Linked DNA regions of Homo sapiens: region 1 is linked to region 2. The links are contacts of gene promoters, found by promoter capture Hi-C in human tissues and cell types (Jung and others, 2019). All regions are on one chromosome and are shown on one strand. Each heading gives the region's core, a stretch centred on a gene start or on the middle of the fragment in contact. The rest is flanking DNA. Distances are from core to core; before and after follow the strand shown.

The links. The method cuts DNA at HindIII sites, captures the fragments that hold promoters and counts their contacts. A contact is called where the count stands out against the background at its distance.
Region 1: a fragment that was not itself captured here is called in contact with the fragment with the promoter of GSX1 in region 2 in 1 of the 25 tissues and cell types used here (dorsolateral prefrontal cortex).

What each region holds. Positions count from the first base shown.
Region 1 is chr13:26,283,252-26,288,205 of GRCh38, reverse strand. The region is part of intron 1 of CDK8 (cyclin dependent kinase 8); the gene reads right to left. Among named protein-coding and RNA genes, the nearest start is that of CDK8, 32 kb to the right of the region's middle. The HindIII fragment of the contact is 4,573 bases long and covers 492-4,954 here.
Region 2 is chr13:27,789,275-27,793,754 of GRCh38, reverse strand. GSX1 (GS homeobox 1) reads right to left here and starts at 1,272. Exons shown (of 2, transcript NM_145657.3): 1 at 653-1,272; 2 at 1-189. The coding sequence starts at 1,064. RefSeq lists an enhancer at 542-1,345. The HindIII fragment of the contact is 15,189 bases long and covers 1-4,480 here.

The DNA.
Region 1 (4,954 bases), core at 1,529-4,028, 1.5 Mb after region 2:
CGGATCACGAGGTCAGGAATTCAAGATCAGCCTGGCCAGCATGGTGAAACCCTGTCTCTACTAAAAATACAAAAAATTAGCCGGGCATGGTGGCACGTGCCTATAGTCCCAGCTACTCGGGAGGCTGAGGCAGGAGAACTGCTTGAGCCGGAGAGGGAGAGGTTGCAGTGAGCCGAGATCACACCCCTGCACTCCAGCCTGGGCGATAGAGTGAGACTCCATCTAAAAAAATAAAATAAAATAAGTTGCACTAAAATTAAGAACTTCTGCTCATTAAAAGACAACACTACAGGGGTAAAAACACAAGTCACAGGATAGTAGAAAATATCTGATACATACATGTGTGTAGATTTTCTCCTAGCACTTTATAGTCTTAAAATTGGGATTTCCTATTATTTTACATGTCATATGGTATTATTACTTTTGACTTCTTTCAATCATTTACTTTTTTTTAGAATTATTTGATCTATTTATTTATATTTTTACTTCAATAGCTTTGAGGGAACAGGCGGTGTGTGGTTGCATGGAAAAGTTCTTTAATGGCGATTTCTGAGATTTTGATGCACCCATCACCTGAGCAGTGTACACTGTACCCAATATGTAGTCTTTTATCCCTAGCCCCTCCCCACCTTTCTCCTCCAAGTCCCCAAAAATCCATTATATCACTCTTATGCCTTTGCATCCTCATAGCTTAGCTCCCGCTTATAAGTGAAAACATATGATGTTTGGTTTTCCATTCCTGAGTTACTGAACTTAGAAAAATGGTCTCCGACTCCATCCAGGTTGCTGCGAATGCCATTATTTCATTCCTTTTTATGGGTGAACAGTATTCCATGGTGTGTATGTGTGTTGGAGGTTGCAGTGAGCCGAGATCGCACCACTGCACTCCAGCCTGGGCGACAGAGCTGTATATATACATATAGACACTACATTTTCTTTATCCACTTGTTTGTTGATGGGCATTTAAGTGGGCTCCATTTTTTTGCAACTGTGAAGTGTGCTGCTATAAATGTGTGTGCAAGTGTCTTTTTCAAATAATGACTTCTTTTCCTCTGAGTAGATACCCAGTACTGGGATTGCTGGATCAAATGGTAGTTCTATTTTAGTTCTTTAAGGAATCTCCATACTGTTTTCCATAGTGGTTTACTTTCCCACCAGCAGTGTAAAAGTGTTCCCTTTTTACCACATCTACACCAACATCTGTTGTTTCTTGATTTTTTAAATTACGGCCATTCTTCCAGGAGTAAGGTGGTATCTCCTTATGGTTTTGATTTGCATTTCCCTGATAATTAGTGATATTGAGCATTTTTTCATATGTCTGTTGGCCATTTGTATATTTTCTTTTGAGAACTGTCTATTCATGTCCCTTGCCCACTTTTTGATGGGATTGTTTTTTATCTTGCTGATTTGAGTTCCTTGTAGATTCTGGGTATTAGTCCTTTGTCAGATGCACAGTTGAGAATATTGTTTTTCCCACTCTGTGGGTTGTCTGTTTACTCTGCTGATTATTTCTTTTACTGTGCAGAAGCTTTTTCGTTTAATAATCTACTTATCTTCGTTTTTGCTGCATTTGTTTTTGGATTCTTGGTCATGAAGTCCTTATCTGAGCCAATGCCCAGAAGGGTTTTTCCGATGTTATCTTCTAGAATTTTTATAATTTCAGATCTTAGATTTAAGTCTTTACTCCATCTTGAGTTGATTTTTGTATAAGGTGAGAGATGAGGATCCAGTTTCATTCTTCTACATGTGGCTTGCCAATTATCCCAGCACCATTTATTGAATGGGATGTCCTTTCCCCATTTAATGTTTTTGTTTGCTTTGTCAAAGATCAGTTGGCTGTAAGTATTTGGCTTTATTTCTGGGTTCTCTCATCTGTTCCATTGGTCTACATGCCTATTTTTATACCAGTACCATACTGTTTTGGTAACTATAGCCTTGTAGTATATAGCTTGAAGTCAGATAATGTGATGCCTCCAGATTTGTTCTTTTTGCTTAGTCTTGCTTTGGCTATGTGGGCTCTTTCTTGGTTCCATATGAACTTCAGGATTGTTTTTTCTAGTTCTGTGAGGAATGACGATGGTATTTTGATGGGAATTGCATTGAATCTGTAGATTGCTTTTGGCAGTATGGTCATTTTCACAATATTGATTCTACCCATCCAAGAGCTTGGCATGTGTTTCCATTTGTTTGAGTCATCTATGATTTCTTTCAGCAATGTTTTGCAGTTTTCCTTGCAGAGATGTTTCACCTCCTTGATTAGGTATATTCGTAAGTATTTTATTTATTTGTTTGTTTGTTTATTTATTTATTGCAGCTGTTGTAAAGGGGTTTTAGTCCTTGATTTGATTCTCGGCTTTGTTATTGTTGGTGTTTAGCAATGCTTCTGATTTGTGTACGCTGATTTTGTATCCTGAAACTTTACTAAATTCATTCATGAGATCAAGGAGCTTTCTGGGTCTTTAGGGTTTTCTAGGTATATGATCATATCATTGGTGAACAGTGACAGTTTGACTTTGTCTTTACCAATGTGGATCCGCTTTATTTCCTTCTCTTGTCTGACTGCTCTGGCTGGGACTTCTAGTACAATGTCGAATGGAAGTGGTGAAAGTGAGCATCCTTGTCTTGTTCCAGTTCTCAGGGGAAATGTTTTCAACTTTTCCTCATTCAGTATAATGTTGGCTGTGGGTTTGTCACAGACGGCTTTTATTACTTCGAGGTATCTCCCTTCTATACTGATTTTGCTAAGGGTTTTAATCATATTGTTAAATGCTTTTTCTGCAACTATTGATACGATCTTTGATTTTTGTTTTTAATTCTGTTTATGTGATGGATCACATTTATTGACTTCCATGTGTTAATTCATCACTACATCCCTGTTATGAAACCCACTTGATTATGGTGTATTATCTTTTTGATAAGCTATTGAATTTGGTTAGCTAGTTTTTGTTTTGTTTTGTTTTGTTTTGTTTTTTTGAGACGGAGTTTCGCTCTTGTTGCCCAGACTGGGGTGCAGTGGCATGATCTCAGCTCACTCGACCTCTCGGGTTCAAGCGATTCTCCTGCCTCAGCCTCCTGAGTAGCTGGAATTACAGGCGTGTGCCACCACGCCCGGCTAACTTTTGTATTTTTAGTAGAGACAGGGTTTCAACATGTTGGCCAGGTTGGTCTCAAACTCCTGATCTCAGGTGATCCACCCACATCAGCCTTTCAAATTGCTGGGATTACAGGCATGAGCCACTGTACCCAGACTTTTTTTTTTTTTTGAGGATTTTTGCATTTATGTTCATCAGGGATATTGGTATGTGGTTTTCTTTTCCTTCCTCCCTCCCCAATCTCCCTCCCCCACTTGCTGCCTCCTTCCTTCTTTCCTTCTTTTTGTTTTTGTTGTTGTTATTATAACCTTTCCTGATTTTGGTATTAGGGTGATACTGGCTTCAAAGACTTATTTGGGGAGGGTACCCTCCTTCTCTATCTTGTGGAATAGTTTTAGTAAAACTGATACCAATTCTTCTCTGAATGCCTGATAGAATCTAGCTGTGAATCCATCCAGTCCTGGAATTTTTTTTGTTGGCAGTTTTTTCATTACTGTTTCAATCTTGCTACTTGTTACTGGTCTGTTCAGAGTTTCTATTTCTTCCAATTTAATCTAGTAGGGTAGTATATTTCCAGGAATTTATCCATCTCTAGATTTTCTAGTTTGTGCTCACAGTAAACTTGAATAATCTTTTATATTTCTGTGGTATCAGTTGTAGTATTTCCCATTTCATTTCTAATTGAGCTTATTTACATCTCTCTTCTTGGTTAATCTTACTAATGGTCTTTCAATGTTGTTTATCTTTTCAAATAAACAGCTTTTTCTTGCATTTATCTTTTGTTTTTGTTTATCTGTTTCAATTTTGTTTAGTTCTGCTCTAATCTTTGTTATTTATTTTCTTCTGCTGCGTTTGGGTTTGGGTTTGGTTTGTTCTTCGTTTCTTTAGTTCCTTGAGGTGTAACCTTAGATTTTGTGCTCTTTCAGACTTTTTGATGCAGGCATTTAATGCTATGACCTTTCTTCTCAGCACCACATTTGCTATATTCCAGAAGTTTGGTAAGTTGTGTCACTATTACTGTTCAGTTGCAAGAATTTTTTAATTTCCACCTTGATTTCATTGTTAAGCCAAAGATCACTCAGAAGCAGATTATTTAATTTCCATGTATTTGTACAGTTTTGATGGTTCCTTTTGGAGTTGATTTCCAATTTTATTCCACTGTGGTCTGAGAAGGTACCTGATATAATTTTGATTTTGTTACTTTTTTTTTTTTTTTTGAGATGGAGTCTTGCTCTGTCGCCAGGCTGCAGTGCAGTGGCATGATCTCGGCTCACTGCAACCTCCACCTCCAGGGTTCAAGTGATTCCCCTGCCTCAGCCTCCCGAGTAGCTGGGACTATAGGCGCACGCCACCACGGCTGGCTAATTTTTTGTATTTTAGTAGAGAAGGGGTTTCACCAAATTGGCCAGGCTGGTCTCAAACTCCTGACCTTGTGATCCGCCCGCCTCAGCCTCCCAAAGTGCTGGGATTATAGGCATAAGCCACTGTGCCCAGTCTACTTTTTTTGAGACGGAGTCTCATTCTGTTGCCCAGGCTGGGGTGCAGTGGCACGATCTTGGCTCACTGCAACCCCTGCCTCCCAGGTTCAAGCAATTCTCCTCCCTCAGTCTCCAGAGTAGCTGGGACTACAGGCACGTGCCACCACGCCCAGCTAATTTTTTTATTTTTAGTAGAGACGGAGTTTCACCGTGTTAGCCAGGAAGGTCTCGATCTCCTAACCTTGTGATCCGCCCGCCTCGGCCTCCCAAAGTGGTGGAATTACAGGCATGAGCCACCGTGCCCAGCCAATTTTGTTGCATTTATTGAGACCTGTTTCATGACCTATCATATGGTCTATCTTAGAGAATGTTCCATGTGCTGAC
Region 2 (4,480 bases), core at 23-2,522:
TCACTCGGCGGTTCTGAAACCAGATCTTCACCTGCTTCTCGGACAGATTCAGGTAGGTCGCGATCTCGATGCGACGTAGGCGGGACAGGTACATATTAGAAGCGAACTCGCGCTCCAGCTCTAGCAGCTGCGTGCTGGTGAAAGCCGTGCGCATCCTCTTGCTGCTGGGCAGCTGGTTAGAGCTGCTGTCTGGAGGTGGCAGAGCAGAGAAGGAAGCGATCAGACCTCTGTGCTGTGGACCCAATCCCTTGGTAGGCGGTCGCCAGAATCCTACGACTTTGACCTCTTACCCATCTCTTCGCCCCAACACAATCCACAGCAGAGCTACAGTGAGCGCTCCTTGTCCAGCTCCGAGATCCTGATTCTCCCGGAGTCATGCAGCCCTGGAACCCCTTCCCCTTCATGGAGAGCCTTGGATCCCAGCCCTCACTTACCCCGGCCCACACTCCAGGACCTGGACGTCTGCCCTCATCCGCCTCCTGGCGTTGTGTCCCGGCCCTCTATCCTCACTCCACCCCAAGCGCCCCCCTTAGTCCCCGACATGACCCTCACCGCCCCCAGAAAGCCCAGGGTCCCTCTTCCTCCATCTCTGGCTCTCCATCCTGCTTCGGATCACCTCTGCCCGGTCCCTCTGCGCGGCGGCCCCGCTTACCCACAGAGATGCAGTGGAACTGCCTGGGGTCAGGCAGCGGGTAGGAGGTCTGGTAGAGCGCGGCGGCAGCAGCAGCGGCGGCCGGGCCGTGAGCGACCCCGGGCGACACAGCAGAGTGCTGGCGGCCCAGGGGCGCGTGGCAGTACTGCGAGCCGAAGGGTGGGAAGGAAGCCTTGAGTAGAGGCAGCGCGGGCGGCCCGGGGGGCCCATGCAGCTGCGAGGCGGTGACGCAGAGCGGGCACACGCACAGCAGCCCAGCCTTGCGCGCGTGGCAGGCGCCAGGCGAGAGACCGTGCAGCGCGTGCGGCGGGGGCACAGCGTAGGGGAAGAGCGGCGGCGGGCTGCCCTCGGGCGCCTTCTTCTCGCCCGCCTCGCGCAGCACTAGCGAGTCCACCAGGAAGGAGCGCGGCATGGCCCCGGCGCGCGGTCGCCCCGCAGCCAGCCCGCCCTCTGCGCCCACCGCACCTTTCGGCTCTCCACGCGCTTTCCCTGGCCGCGGTATCCCGCAGCTGCCTCTGCCCAGGAGGCTGAACGCGCGGCTGAGACCTAGGCTGAAACAGTAGCCTCTGCTGCCGTGGGCACCGCCCAAAGAGCGCGGGGTGCTGGCCAGCGCTAGTGGTGCTGAAAGGCGCCGGCGGCGCGGCTTAAATAGGACTATTGCCATGTGATGGACTACGCCAGGAGCGGCCGGGGCCTCTCAATAGGGTTTTTGTGCCTTTTCTCTTGGCATTCACTCTGCACGCTTCCTCATTATTTCACTTGTTAACTAAATGAACTGCATAATGTACTCTATTCTTGTCAACCCCACCCACGCCGTAACAGGCGCCCTCGCCCCCTCCTCTCCCTTTTGCGGGTTTATTTTCTCATTCTCCCGCGATTTAATATTCTTTCCTTTCTCTTTATTTCTTACTCCCCTTTGGCTTTGCATTGGCCATCAGCCCGTTCACCTTACTGATTTTGCACCCCCGCGGCCTCTCTTCTACAGATCCCCATGGGCGCACACCCTCATATCCTCTGTCCACTTGGTCCTGGTCCCCTTCTTTCTATTATCGCCCTTACACCCCAAAAGTATGCTGTCTCCAGTCAGCCCTGTCAGCTCAGTGCCGTGCACCCCCGAACCTCCCTCCAGCCGGTCTCAGATTTTCCACCTGTGGAATCGCTTCTCTCTCTGCGTCGGAAGAAGGAGGACCGGGTTCCCGCGTGAAGGAGGCGTCTGTGGGGAGGGAGGAGAAGGGCTCATTATTCCTTATCCAGCCCTAGACCCATCGCTGTCCCTCGGTTTTCTCTAAGTTTCTCAAATAGTCTTAATTTTGGTGCTGCCTACGACGCCCAGTCTTTGTTCGGTAGATGCTGGCCAACCAGCCCTTTCCTTCAAATGACAGGGCCGTGGATGTAAAAGAGGAAAAACAGTCTCTGAGCGTTACGAACAGAGACAGGGAATGGGGAATGAAAGCCGAGATGGCGCAGATCTAGATCTCGCACCCCAGCACATGTGGCGAGTGCGGACTGTCTGCCCGCGCATCTTGCCCACACCCTGTCTACTGGAGCACACTTCCAGCAGTGCGCTGGGAAACCGCTGCCATCTCTTAGTTTGGAACGGCGCGAAGGGCGGTTGTATTCCTGGCATCGGCTGCCTTTGCCCACCCTGACCCGCCTCCGCTCTCCCCAAGACCCGGCTTCTTCTTCCTGCCGCGTCACTCTTCTTTCTGGTCACACAATGGTTAAACAACTTCAAACGCTCAGAGCTGTGTACACAGCTCCAGCTTTTTAAATCGTTCTCGGGCTCAAAGCTGTTTCGCCCAGGAGCTTTTTCCATACAATGGGAAATCAGCATAAACATTTCTAATTTACAGCCCGGGACTTTTCACAGGAGACGTTTACTTTCGATTTTATTGGAACCAAATCGCTGCAGTCACCTGCTCTGAGCCCTGAATGGAATTGTGAGAAATGGAGGGGGAAGCTTAGGGGTCTGGGGAAGCAGTGCGCAGGAATAAGATTGCCCAAACCCGAAGCATCTGCATGGGCTTTTATCCTTGGCAACATCTTTGCAATAACAACAGCAACAGATTATAACTGATTAAAAAGCAAAGATAATTTGTTTTGCGAGATAATAACTGCTTCTGTAAAAGGGAATAGGACAATGGGAGAAGTAACCTGCATGGAGGGCATGGCATCTAGCAGGAGTAAGGGTTCAATGTTTTCTTGGTTGCTTGGCATGGAGTGGGGGGCAAGGCTGCCCTCTGAGACAGAGTCTCAGCGCCAAGGCTCCCCCACTCTAGGGTGGTGCCTGCAAACCAGCCGGAACGCATCAATGCAGCCTAATTCCCGTTCTAATTGCTCTCTGGGAAATTTGAGCTGGGCTGGGTCGCTGAGAGGAAGCGAAGAGCGAGACCCGGGCGGGGAGAGGGGCTTTCCGCTGGGCAGAGGCAGGCTGGAGGGGCGCAAGGGCGGGCGGGGCCCAGGGGTGCAAGGGGCGGGCACTGCACCCGGAGCTGGGAGCCCGCGAGTGGCCAGCGTGGAGCTCCACTGGCAGCCGCCCCGCGTGCCCGGGGAGGAAGGGGTTAAGAGCCCCTGAATGCGAGCAAGGCCAAAGCTACTGGGAAAGAATATGGGGGTGGGGGTGGGGGTGGGGGGAATAACCAGGTTTTTTTTTTTTTCCTCTCTCCAGCCTCTGGACCTTATTGAATGTCATTGAAGAAAGTTTTGAATGCCAGATAAAGAGAGGCGAATTAAAGTGTGTGACAGCGAAGGATAAGCAAACACAAAGAGAACTCTGTCACACTTTGGGGCAAAATCCGTGGGCTTTTTACCAAGTCTCTTCGCTATGATTGAATTAAGTAATAGGAAAACATTTTCTTTCAGTTTAGAGCCATTAGACAAAAACTTCAAAGCGAATAACACTTTTTAATGTGCGGCCCCACAATGGATCGGGTTTTGTGCTGAAATGTTTAAATGGTTTGTTGTGCAACTCGGCGCGGGAGAGACCCGGGCCGGAGCAAAATAGCATCCCTGAGAGAACCAAGGCGCACTTAATCTGTGGTCTCTCAGCCCGGCGGGCCGCGGCCGGAGAGGGGGCTCCCTGCTTGGCGGTCCAGGGCCGCCAGCGCGCCCAGGAGCCTGGCCATTTCCGCAGAGAAAGCTCCGTGCCTCTGAGAGACCCGAGCCTTGGGCAGGTGCTAGCGCGGGCAGCCGGGAGGTCCGGGCCGCCCCGCCAACCCGGCCTCCCCACCCAGCCAACCCGGCCTCCCCACCCCGCGGCCTCTGCCCGCCGCCTGGTTTCCGGGGGCCGCTACCCGGGCTCTCTCGGGCGGCCGCGCCACTTTCCTGTTTAAAGCGCCTCCCAGGGCTTGCTTTAGCCGAGTTTGAACTTTAGTCACCCGAGCAAAAGTCCCCCAGAGCGGGGCGGGGTGGGAGGCGGCTGCCGGATTAGCCTGACAGCCCCAGGAGGGGCCCGGGAGCCCCTGGGCCTGGCGGGTCGGCTCTGCTGCCGGAGCCGGTTTTCAAGTGTCCATCAGGGACAGTTCAACATTGAAAGAATTTCTGTTGTCCCGGGCTTTCCTTCTTTCATTCTGTCTCCTTTCCTGTGGGTAGAAAGAACACACGATTTTTCTCCCGGAATTGCAGCTCTAAGATACTTGCCGCAAAAACTGCTCAAATTGGAGGGTGGGGAGGGTGGCAGTGGTGGTGCCTTGTTCCCTTCTTTCATGTTTTTCTTCAAATGTCACTTTCCTTCTCAGGGAGGCCAACGACCTTATTTAAAATAGCCCCTCACTTCCGCCACACTCCGTGTTTGGTTCCTTGCTACATAAGCACCTTCTAACTTCCTGT